Linked DNA regions of Homo sapiens: region 1 is linked to region 2. Evidence: promoter capture Hi-C in human tissues and cell types (Jung and others, 2019). All regions are on one chromosome and are shown on one strand. Each heading gives the region's core, a stretch centred on a gene start or on the middle of the fragment in contact. The rest is flanking DNA. Distances are from core to core; before and after follow the strand shown.

Region 1 (4,818 bases), core at 1,228-3,727, 600 kb before region 2:
ATATTGCTCTGAACATAACTTTAAATCAAACTTTGCAGTCACACTCTTCCTAAATAGAATATTGAATGCTAGCACAGAGTAATGGAATAAGTATTGACTTGGGGGCACACAGCTCTGTTCTTAAATATTTTTGGTGGCATAAATTGGGTCAAGCTGCTTAACCTTGTTGAAACTTGGTTTACCGTCTAGAAAAATGTCTGCTTTACACAGTTATTATGAGGAAAGTGCCAGTACATTTTGATTCATAGAAGAAACTCAATAAAAATACATTAGTTCCCTTCCCTGCAGATTTGGAAGATGTGGAGCAGTAGAGGAAATATCAGTGACGCAGTTTCAGTGTGGTATAAAATGTTTGCTTTATTATGAATGCGTGTTTGATAGCTGCTCCCACCAGCTCTCTTCTGACATTTTTGAAACATATGACTCAACAGGGGAAATTAATAGGATGATAGAACATTGAAATTTGAATCCTGACATAGGAGCCCTCCAGCTGTGTTCCTATAGGTGGTGGCAAACCCATTGCAGATCTACTGAGGCTCTTTCTGGAACCACATAGCCATTGGCCATATATATGCAAGTCTAACCAATACAAAAGCTTGGATATATTTTTTAGACCCTGCAGCAGTCTGAAAAATGTGAGAACTTTGAAAATCATCTTAATTTCATAGATGGGAGTTGAACTCACCCAGGATTAGATCATGACTAAGTGTTACTGAGATTCTGCCAAACTGTGTAGGGTAAAATGGAAATGAGGTGAAAATATGAGAGCAGCTATGGTATATTGCTCTTTTTGAAAATTTCCATCAGAATTATGTAATAAACTAGAGTTGGTAGGGTAGGTGTCTTAGACCTTTTCTATTACTTATAACAGAATACCTGAAACTGGGTTATTTATACAGAAAAGGAACTTATTTCTTAACAGTTATGGAGGCTAAGTCCCATGTCAAGGGGCTGCATCTGGTGAGGGCCTTCTTGCTGGTGGGGACTCTGCAGTGTCCCAGGAAGGCTCAGAGTATCACATGGCGAGGGGGCTGAGTGTGCTAGCTCAGGTCTCCCCTCCTCTTTTTTAAAGCCACCAGGTCCCCTCCCAACATAACCCACTAATCCATGAATGGATTAATCCATTCATGAGGGCAGAGCCCTTATAATCCAGTAACTCTTTAAAAGCCTCATCTCTCAGTATTGCCACAGTAGGGTCCAAGTTTATCTCAATTGCTTACCCTTTTTTTCTTTTTCTTTGTGAAACTGCCTGATTTCAGAAGATGTTTAGCTCAGTAAATATACCAGAGATTTGTTGTTTTGTAAAACAGTCTTTATTCTTTTCTTCCAAATGTGAGATATTCTAAGTGAAATGAAGACTTTTGTCCTTTATGCTTGCTGAAATTTGAATGGCTTGTTTTATAGCAGTCTTTTTTCCCTTTTTCAGGAACTCTTTCCAGTTAACAGACAGAGTGTGGATCATTTTGCTAAATACTTCACTGACGCAGGTCTTAAGGAGCTTTCCGACTTCCTCCGAGTCCAGCAGTCCCTGGGCACCAGGAAGGAACTGCAGAAGGAGCTCCAGGAGCGTCTTTCTCAGGAATGCCCGATCAAGGAGGTGGGAGACCACGGGCAGACATCACCTCAATACACATGAATGAGAGGAATTACATGGGCTGTGTAGCAAAGGCTTTCCTTAACAAGTCTGTCCTATGCTTATTGCTGTAAACTTTGTCCACTTATTCCTACCATTTAAATTAACTCAGCTTCAAAGTATTGATTTAGAATCCTCCATTTTTGTTAACACTCTAGGATGGTCCAGAAATTAATAGTGATTTCCACACAACTGACTTATTTTACCAGGCTGCTATGATTTTCAAAATATTTCATCTGTCAAAGAGATTTGACCATCCACTATCAGTATAGCCCATTATATGGTAGTTTTAAAATTTTGTTGCAGGTTATCTAACCTGATTAAGCATTTGTCTAGTGTTTGGAATTAACACTGGATTTTTTGTTCATCACTCTGTATGAATATGTAACAGGCTTTTTATTTGAAAAAAGTTTGAATTCCTGTCATGGGAAAAGACTAGTTGGATCAGTGACTTGTTTAATCCCACTCACACTTGGAAGAGCTGTGTTTCCCTATAATGTAAAAGCTATATTTTTTATAATACGCATATACATAGTTTATATATACATGCTATAGTTCACAAAGCAATGACTATATCTTTTTTTTATTTTTAGTGTATCTGGAGAGAGCTTTCTATTTGAAGTTTTAAAATCTTTCATGCAACAATTTAAAAATTAATATAAAGCGTCCTTTCTTTTTTTCCACGTGCTCTAAAATGCCTGACCCACACCTCCTTCCATGCTCCAAGCCCTGCTTGGCAGCTCACATGGTTGAAGCCTGGAGAATGTAGGACTGATACTATCCAGCAGGTGGAGGTGTTGGAATGACAAATATTCTTAAGTCTCATGGTATTAAGGATAGCAGTATATTTAATCATATTTCTCCAAGCAAGAATTTGTACATTATTTTCCATGGGGAAAAGAAGCAAACATAAAAAGCCTTGTGATGCTTGTAGATGCCAGGATGTCACACTTTTATGTGGCTTCCTCCAGCCAGCACAGGGACTGGGACTGCCCGGCTCCTTCTGCTTTTGAAGGCTGCTCAAGTCACTGCTGGCATTTCTACACTCCAGGCCAGAAGTCAAGAAAGCAATGTGTTTCCAGCAAAAAAGAAAAGGGAGGGAAAAAAAAGGTGTTACTACTACTCACAAAGTAGTATGCTGGAGATATACGATGACTTTCAATCACTTCTGAGGCCCAAACCTCTATTTATTATTTTATTTTAAAAGGAAAAAGCCTTTCAAATAAATTTTAGGCAAGCCTATATTCCATACTCTCAGGGTTGAGTATAAATTTGCATATTTATACATAATTCAAAGGAGAAAATAAGTTGCTGAATACTGCTGAATTGATGTATATGAAATTTAAAAATTGCCTTTGCACTTACAATTTATTTACAAATTAACTTTTCACTGAGATGGGGCATAAGGATCATCAAAAGTAATCATTGAAGAATAAATTGTGGAGAATGGACCTGTACAAACCCAAGATGGTATCCATCAAGAGGTTTTAAAGTTTAGGGATGGGATAAAAGTTCACAACGCTGTTGCCTTCTTTAAATCTCCAAAAAGTCAAACTGGCTCAAGTATCCCTACTCTACTAGACTCAAAGGGGTTTCTCTATGAGGAAACAAAAATCCTCTCTTACTCCACATTATCCAGCAGCTCCTGGCCAGAGCTAAGCCTATTAATTTTGGGACTAAAAATAAATTTGCTTTGAGAACAAATCATTATAGTTTTTCTCCCTCTTCCAGTCTGAGAATGCAGACAAGGAAAGGAGAAGCTAAGCAGATTGTTTCTTAGCTGCCCCAAAACCTTGATTGACTGGGCAGCTAGCGGGGAGATGGGAGCCCTCCATCTGCCTGTTACTTTCTGACCCCATTTCCATGTAATGTAGGTGGTGCTTTATGTCAAAGAAGAAATGAAGAGGAATGATCTTCCAGAAACAGCAGTGATTGGTCTTCTGTGGACATGTATAATGAACGCTGTTGAGTGGAACAAGAAGGAAGAACTTGTTGCAGAGCAGGCTCTGAAGCACCTGAAGGTAACAGCCCTTAGCAAGGAACTGACCCAGCCAAGGGCAAACTGCAGCTTTTTTTGTTTGTTTGTTTGTTTGTTTGAGAGTGCAGTGGCACGATCTGCGCTCACTGCAACTTTGAACTCCTGGGCTCAAGCCACCCTCCCTCCTCAGCCTCCCAGGTAGCTAGGACTACAGGCGCGTGCCACCACGTCTGGCTAATTTCTTCATTTTTTGGTAGAGATGTAGTCTCGCTGTGTTGCCCAGGCTGGTCTTGAACTCCTGCATTCAAGCTATCCTCCTGCCTTGGCCTCCCAAAGTGTTGGATTGCAGGCATGAGCCACCACGCCGGGCCCAAATTTGTCTTAATTGAGAGTATGACAAATGGGTTCCAACTACAATTACCCTAGACTCAGACTAAACATATACTTCCTAATTTTTTTCCAAGTTTGCACCCAGCGTTCATGAGAACATAGCAGTGAGTAAACTGTCCATGTTACTTTGATCAGGGAAGGCCCTTTGGAAGAGATAAGTATTGAATTGAGTAAGTCTCAGAAAAACAATGGCTATGCCTCAGTGTCAGAAAGTCAAGGATATTTCTAAATGAATGCTTTTTATCCCAGCAGCTCATCAAGATTCCTTCCCTGTACCCACTAAGAGACCAAATATGAGAATCTGCCTATATTAAAGATAATTGCTGGCCTGCTATGTCTAAGGGATATTTCGAAAATGAGGTCATATCCTCATAGAATATCCATTGTATTATTGGACTGTGGCTCTGCCATTGAAAAAATGTGAATCTTCTTCCCAGTTCCCTCACAGGTCGACTATACTGCTTTGTTCCTACTGTTCTGTTCCCCTCACCCCATTGGGCACAATATGATGATAAAAGGTGTCAATCCTGAAAGTCAGTCTTTTCTAAGCAACCCTCCAGGTTACTGTTATAGTTCCAGCAGTGTCGGCTCTGTACCTCCCACGCAAGTGACGGCTTTTACTCTCCACTTCTGTTCTAGCAATATGCTCCCCTGCTGGCCGTGTTCAGCTCCCAAGGCCAGTCAGAGCTGATCCTCCTCCAGAAGGTTCAGGAATACTGCTACGACAACATCCATTTCATGAAAGCCTTTCAGAAGATTGTGGTTCTCTTTTATAAAGGTATCCATCCACGTGCCACTGCTGTGCTTCTGTGTTTTG
Region 2 (4,921 bases), core at 1,912-4,411:
TTTATTACAGCAATTTACAAAAACACAGCCTCACAAAGATACGATGTCAAAAGGAATGAAGTACAATTTAATGTGTAGAAGTTCTGAACTACCTCAAGATAGTGGTTTGCACGGTGTCCAACTGATGTCACTGTGTTGGCCTTGAAAATTTAAAATATCCCATGATAGTGCCCCTGTGAGTTTGTTGTGGTGCTCCTGGGGTGCCTCAGTACATAGTTTAGGAAGCATGGACTACCCTCTGTAAAATACTTCATATAGCTACAATGTGTGTTGTAAACTGTAAAAGACAATTCTGAGGGCCTGAAGTAAGGAGCTGCAGAATTGAAGAGGAGATTAAAAAGTGATACATGTTCAGTCTGCATGAAATTCCCCTTCCTCCCCAGGTCACCTATAAAATGCCTACCTATGCCTACCTATAAAATGCCTACCTATGCCTCAAAACTCAGCTCAAGCTCCCTCAGGGAGGTTACCAAGTTACCCTTACCAAGTTAAATCCACCTATTATACATTCTCACAGTATTCATTTCACAGTACTTGTCCCAGTTGTAATTATACATTCATTTGTGTAACTATCTGGTTAATTCTTGTCTCTCTCATTAGAATGTAAGCTCTAAGAGGAAAGAACATGTCTGATATCACTACTGTAACCCACAGTGTCTGGTATATTATAGGGGCTAAAATCTTGCTTAGTGAAATGAACTGTGATAGAATAGGTTTAGCATTCATTTTGATTATTTTCCTTTATTCAAGAACAGCTGATATTTATAATAGCATTCCTAAAACATTTTTCTCATACTATTTCGCAGGAGAAAGAAACCCATACACATACAGCTGCATCTGAAACCTCAGAAACTAAGCTCAACCCAATTGATTAAAAGGATGTTCTTTGGATAAGGTAATCAAATGTTCACCGACTCTTATAGCCAAATTAATTATTATGAGATAAAAATCACGTAACTACAAAAAAAAAAACTGCTCACAAAAAAGTTTTTAAATCTTAGCAGATGGACACAAACCATACTTTGAGAACCATGTTCCACAGTGCCAATACAGGAAGTTTCTAGATAATGGCAGCTCATTTTTTAAAAATGGCACTACACTATACTGTATTCACATGCCAGCAAAACTGTTAAGGTAAGTTCATGTCACTATTAAAATAAAATGAATTCTGGGAATTTTGTTGATATTCAATTTTAATCTTAATTATGCAAAGATCTGTTACTTAACTAAGACTATGTAACATAATATAGCATATGACTTCTGGATAATGAAAATAATCCTAAACTTAACCATAAAAAAATAAGGGTATGAAAGTCAAAATAAGGTAGAAAATGACTGCACCAAATAGCCAACAACCTTAAAAAGGGTAGGATTTTTTTAAATCACTAAATTAAGATTGGTTCATTGCATTTAGTACATCTCTTTTATGAAGAGGAGTTATAAGCTACAGAATCAATAAATTATGTTTTGATATAAATTTTTCACCCTTAAAGTTCCTAGCTAGGAGGAAATTATTCTTTTACACTTACACGTTTTAGATAGAATGGCTATAAGTAAGCACAGATAAATGAAGAAATGAAAGAGAAGGGAAAAATAGAGATGGTTGATTCTGCCTCTGCAATTGCTAATTCATAAACATCAAACTTTCCCAGTGTACACTGTCTTCTTTGGGAATTTGCTCCATCTTTTTCCTTAAACTGAAAGGTGGCTTACTGAGGCTATCACTTTCCTAAAGGTCTCCCCAATACTGCCTAATTATTTTCTCTTATCACAGGATACAGGGTGGATGTCCATCTACTTCCTTGTTGTCACTTCCCAGATCACTTTCACTTTATGCTCTTCTAAAATTAAAACAAAGATCATCGACCACAAAACACAATTGTTCTTTTGTAGCTCATGCTAGAATACCCTCTTTGTTACATCTCCTTCATTTTTCTGATCCAAAATTTAGTAGCCTACTATATCTCACCCACTGTCCTTCTTTCCTCCAGCTATGGTAGAGAACTGCTCCTCCAACTTTATGTACATTTGAATCACCTGGGAGTTCCTGTGAACTTCGGGTTCTGATTTAATAAGGACACCCAAAGAGTCTGCATTTCCTGTAACTCTCAAAAGAAGCTGTGGAGTACTCTGAATAGCAAAGCACTGTAAGTGCTGTTTCTGTTAGTATCTAATCTATTAGTCCTAATCTCCCATTTATGCTTTGGCACTCATTCCCTCCTGCTTTCGGTATCTTAATATCTATCATTCCTTCACTCTTCCCTCAGGTTCCCTACATAGTTTATCTCTACCCCCTCTAAGCCGCTCAGTATCGCCCATTAAAGAACTAAACCAAAACTAGAAAACCCTCATTTAACCCTTCACTCCCCCTACATACAATCTGATGTGTCTCTCATCCACAGCTAAACTTGGAAGAAAAATTGCCTGCTTGAGGATGCCATTTTGTTATCTTCAGCTCAATCCTGTACCCACTTCAATGTTATTTGCAGGCCCATTACCCCAACACTGCATTCACGAAAGTCATCAGTGACTACACATTGAGAAAACAAGAATGACATTTTCAGTTCTCAACTAATTTGAATTTCTCAACAGTATTCAATATTGTTAATTACTCCCAATATTTTTCCACATGGTCCTCCATGACACAATACATAATAGTCCCCTTATTATCTATATTCCTGTCTATTGTAAAGACTTCCCCCGCACACCAAAAAAGGTCAAGGAAACTCCTAGCCTTCAAGTCTCAACTCAAATCTGGCCTTCTGAAGCCTTCCCAACTAGGAAAATATACAGTCCCATTGGTTGTCTACCAGTTGTCTACCAGTTAATTGTAATTCTTAGCCACAAGTTAGCTGACCCACCGTCTCTCAAACAGGTGAAGTTAAGCTCAATATTTGGCATATCTTGATATACTTTGTACAGTCTAGCTACAATAAGTTTGCCTATGCACGAAGATGGCTACCGGCGGGGGGGGGCGTCCTTACGTCCTACGTCATCACGTGCCGGGATGAGGGTGGGGCCCTCAAGGAAGACGGAATGGAATCCAGATGGGCGGGGGCAAGCAGGACGGGGCGGGGCTACGCGGGATCTGGGCGGGGCGGGGCCGGTGAGGGGTCGGGGGTGCTCCTGCTATTCAGCCGGTGCGCGCGGCGGCGGGAGGCAGTGGCTGGGGAGTCCCGTCGACGCTCTGTTCCGAGAGCGTGCCCCGGACCGCCAGCTCAGAACAGGGGCAGCCGTGTAGCCGAACGGAAGCTGGGAGCAGCCGGGACTGGTGGCCCGCGCCCGAGCTCCGCAGGCGGGAAGCACCCTGGATTTAGGAAGTCCCGGGAGCAGCGCGGCGGCACCTCCCTCACCCAAGGGGCCGCGGCGACGGTCACGGGGCGCGGCGCCACCGTGAGCGACCCAGGCCAGGATTCTAAATAGACGGCCCAGGCTCCTCCTCCGCCCGGGCCGCCTCACCTGCGGGCATTGCCGCGCCGCCTCCGCCGGTGTAGACGGCACCTGCGCCGCCTTGCTCGCGGGTCTCCGCCCCTCGCCCACCCTCACTGCGCCAGGCCCAGGCAGCTCACCTGTACTGGCGCGGGCTGCGGAAGCCTGCGTGAGCCGAGGCGTTGAGGCGCGGCGCCCACGCCACTGTCCCGAGAGGACGCAGGTGGAGCGGGCGCGGCTTCGCGGAACCCGGCGCCGGCCGCCGCAGTGGTCCCAGCCTACACCGGGTTCCGGGGACCCGGCCGCCAGTGCCCGGGGAGTAGCCGCCGCCGTCGGCTGGGCACCATGAACAGCAGCAGCGCCAACATCACCTACGCCAGTCGCAAGCGGCGGAAGCCGGTGCAGAAAACGTGAGTGTCCCGAGCGCGTCCTCATCGCGGGGGCTGGGCGCTCAGGCACGCGGGTGCGGGAGGCAGCCCCACCCCGCCCCCAAATCCCTGCGATCCTGGGATTAGGTCCATTCCCGGCACTGCCCGTGGAATCGAGGTTTGGAGGCCGGCTGGGAGACAGAGGACTTGGATTCTCCCGTTTTCAATGATTGCATTTTAAAAATTGTCCTCCCACCCATCCTCTTCCCCCGCACCAGTGCATACACACCCTCTCACATTTGCAACTTTGTTCTTTCTGATTTGGTCCTGATTTGTTGACAGCTCTGATCTGCCTTGGGCTAATGGATTAGTTAGTATAAACCTGTCTTGAAATCTCCTTCCACTTTTCATATCCGCATGGGTTAGGTTAGAGGACGGTCTTAATTCTCATTCTTCGTAGAGTTTGGTAAGGCGAGATGTTTTAAAGAGCTAAACACATGCTGACTTTTACGAAGGGGCTGAGTGCCTCTAAAGGTACTTTTTGGTCCCCACCAACTGGCTTTGTGTTGCGCTCATATTTACTTATTTGGCAGCAATTTTGTAGCGCTCATCGTGACCATATCGGTAAAGTGGATAGAAGTGGTAGCAGGTGGGAGTGGATGCAACGGACAGGATACGGTGGAGGATTTGTATTCTTCAGACATCTTTTTCGGAAGCTTGCTTATCACTTTTGGGGTGGCTTTAGGGTCTGTAAAATAAAAGATTTAGAACTGCATTTGAGAGAGGTTTTCATTCTTAACATCTACCTCTAATTCTTTTCCCCTTCAAAGTTTTCTTCTAGTTGAGTGAGTACAAACTTGCTTTTGTCGTTGTCGGTTGATTTTGGTGGAATATTTGTGTGAGATGGCCAATTTTTTGTGTGTGTCAGAAAAAACTATCCGTGCTCAAAACATTTCCTGTTGTGAGGTGGTTGTATTCATGTGTTTATTCCAATTTTTTTATTTCTAGATCTCTGAGTTACTTTACCTACATGTGTTTCAAGTTTTCGTAAACAATTTTAAGAACTCTTAAACGTCTTCTCAGACCAAATCAGAAGTGTGCATTTTGCTTAGACTCCAACTATC

Evidence for each region. Contacts are between HindIII fragments. The study calls those that stand out against the background at their distance.
Region 1: a contact is called between a fragment that was not itself captured here and the fragment with the promoter of AHR in region 2, in 1 of the 25 tissues and cell types used here (small bowel).

What each region holds. Positions count from the first base shown.
Region 1 is chr7:16,693,408-16,698,225 of GRCh38, forward strand. It overlaps BZW2 (basic leucine zipper and W2 domains 2), which reads left to right. Exons shown (of 12, transcript NM_014038.3): 8 at 1,427-1,597; 9 at 3,508-3,654; 10 at 4,641-4,779. Among named protein-coding and RNA genes, the nearest start is that of BZW2, 50 kb to the left of the region's middle. The HindIII fragment of the contact is 9,548 bases long and covers 1-4,818 here.
Region 2 is chr7:17,295,491-17,300,411 of GRCh38, forward strand. AHR (aryl hydrocarbon receptor) reads left to right here and starts at 3,162. Exons shown (of 11, transcript NM_001621.5): 1 at 3,162-3,839. The coding sequence starts at 3,775. LOC101927609 (a long non-coding RNA gene) reads right to left here and starts at 3,830. Exons shown (of 12, transcript XR_007060234.1): 1 at 3,570-3,830. RefSeq lists silencers at 3,437-3,586, 3,637-3,746, 3,787-3,836. The HindIII fragment of the contact is 8,110 bases long and covers 1-4,921 here.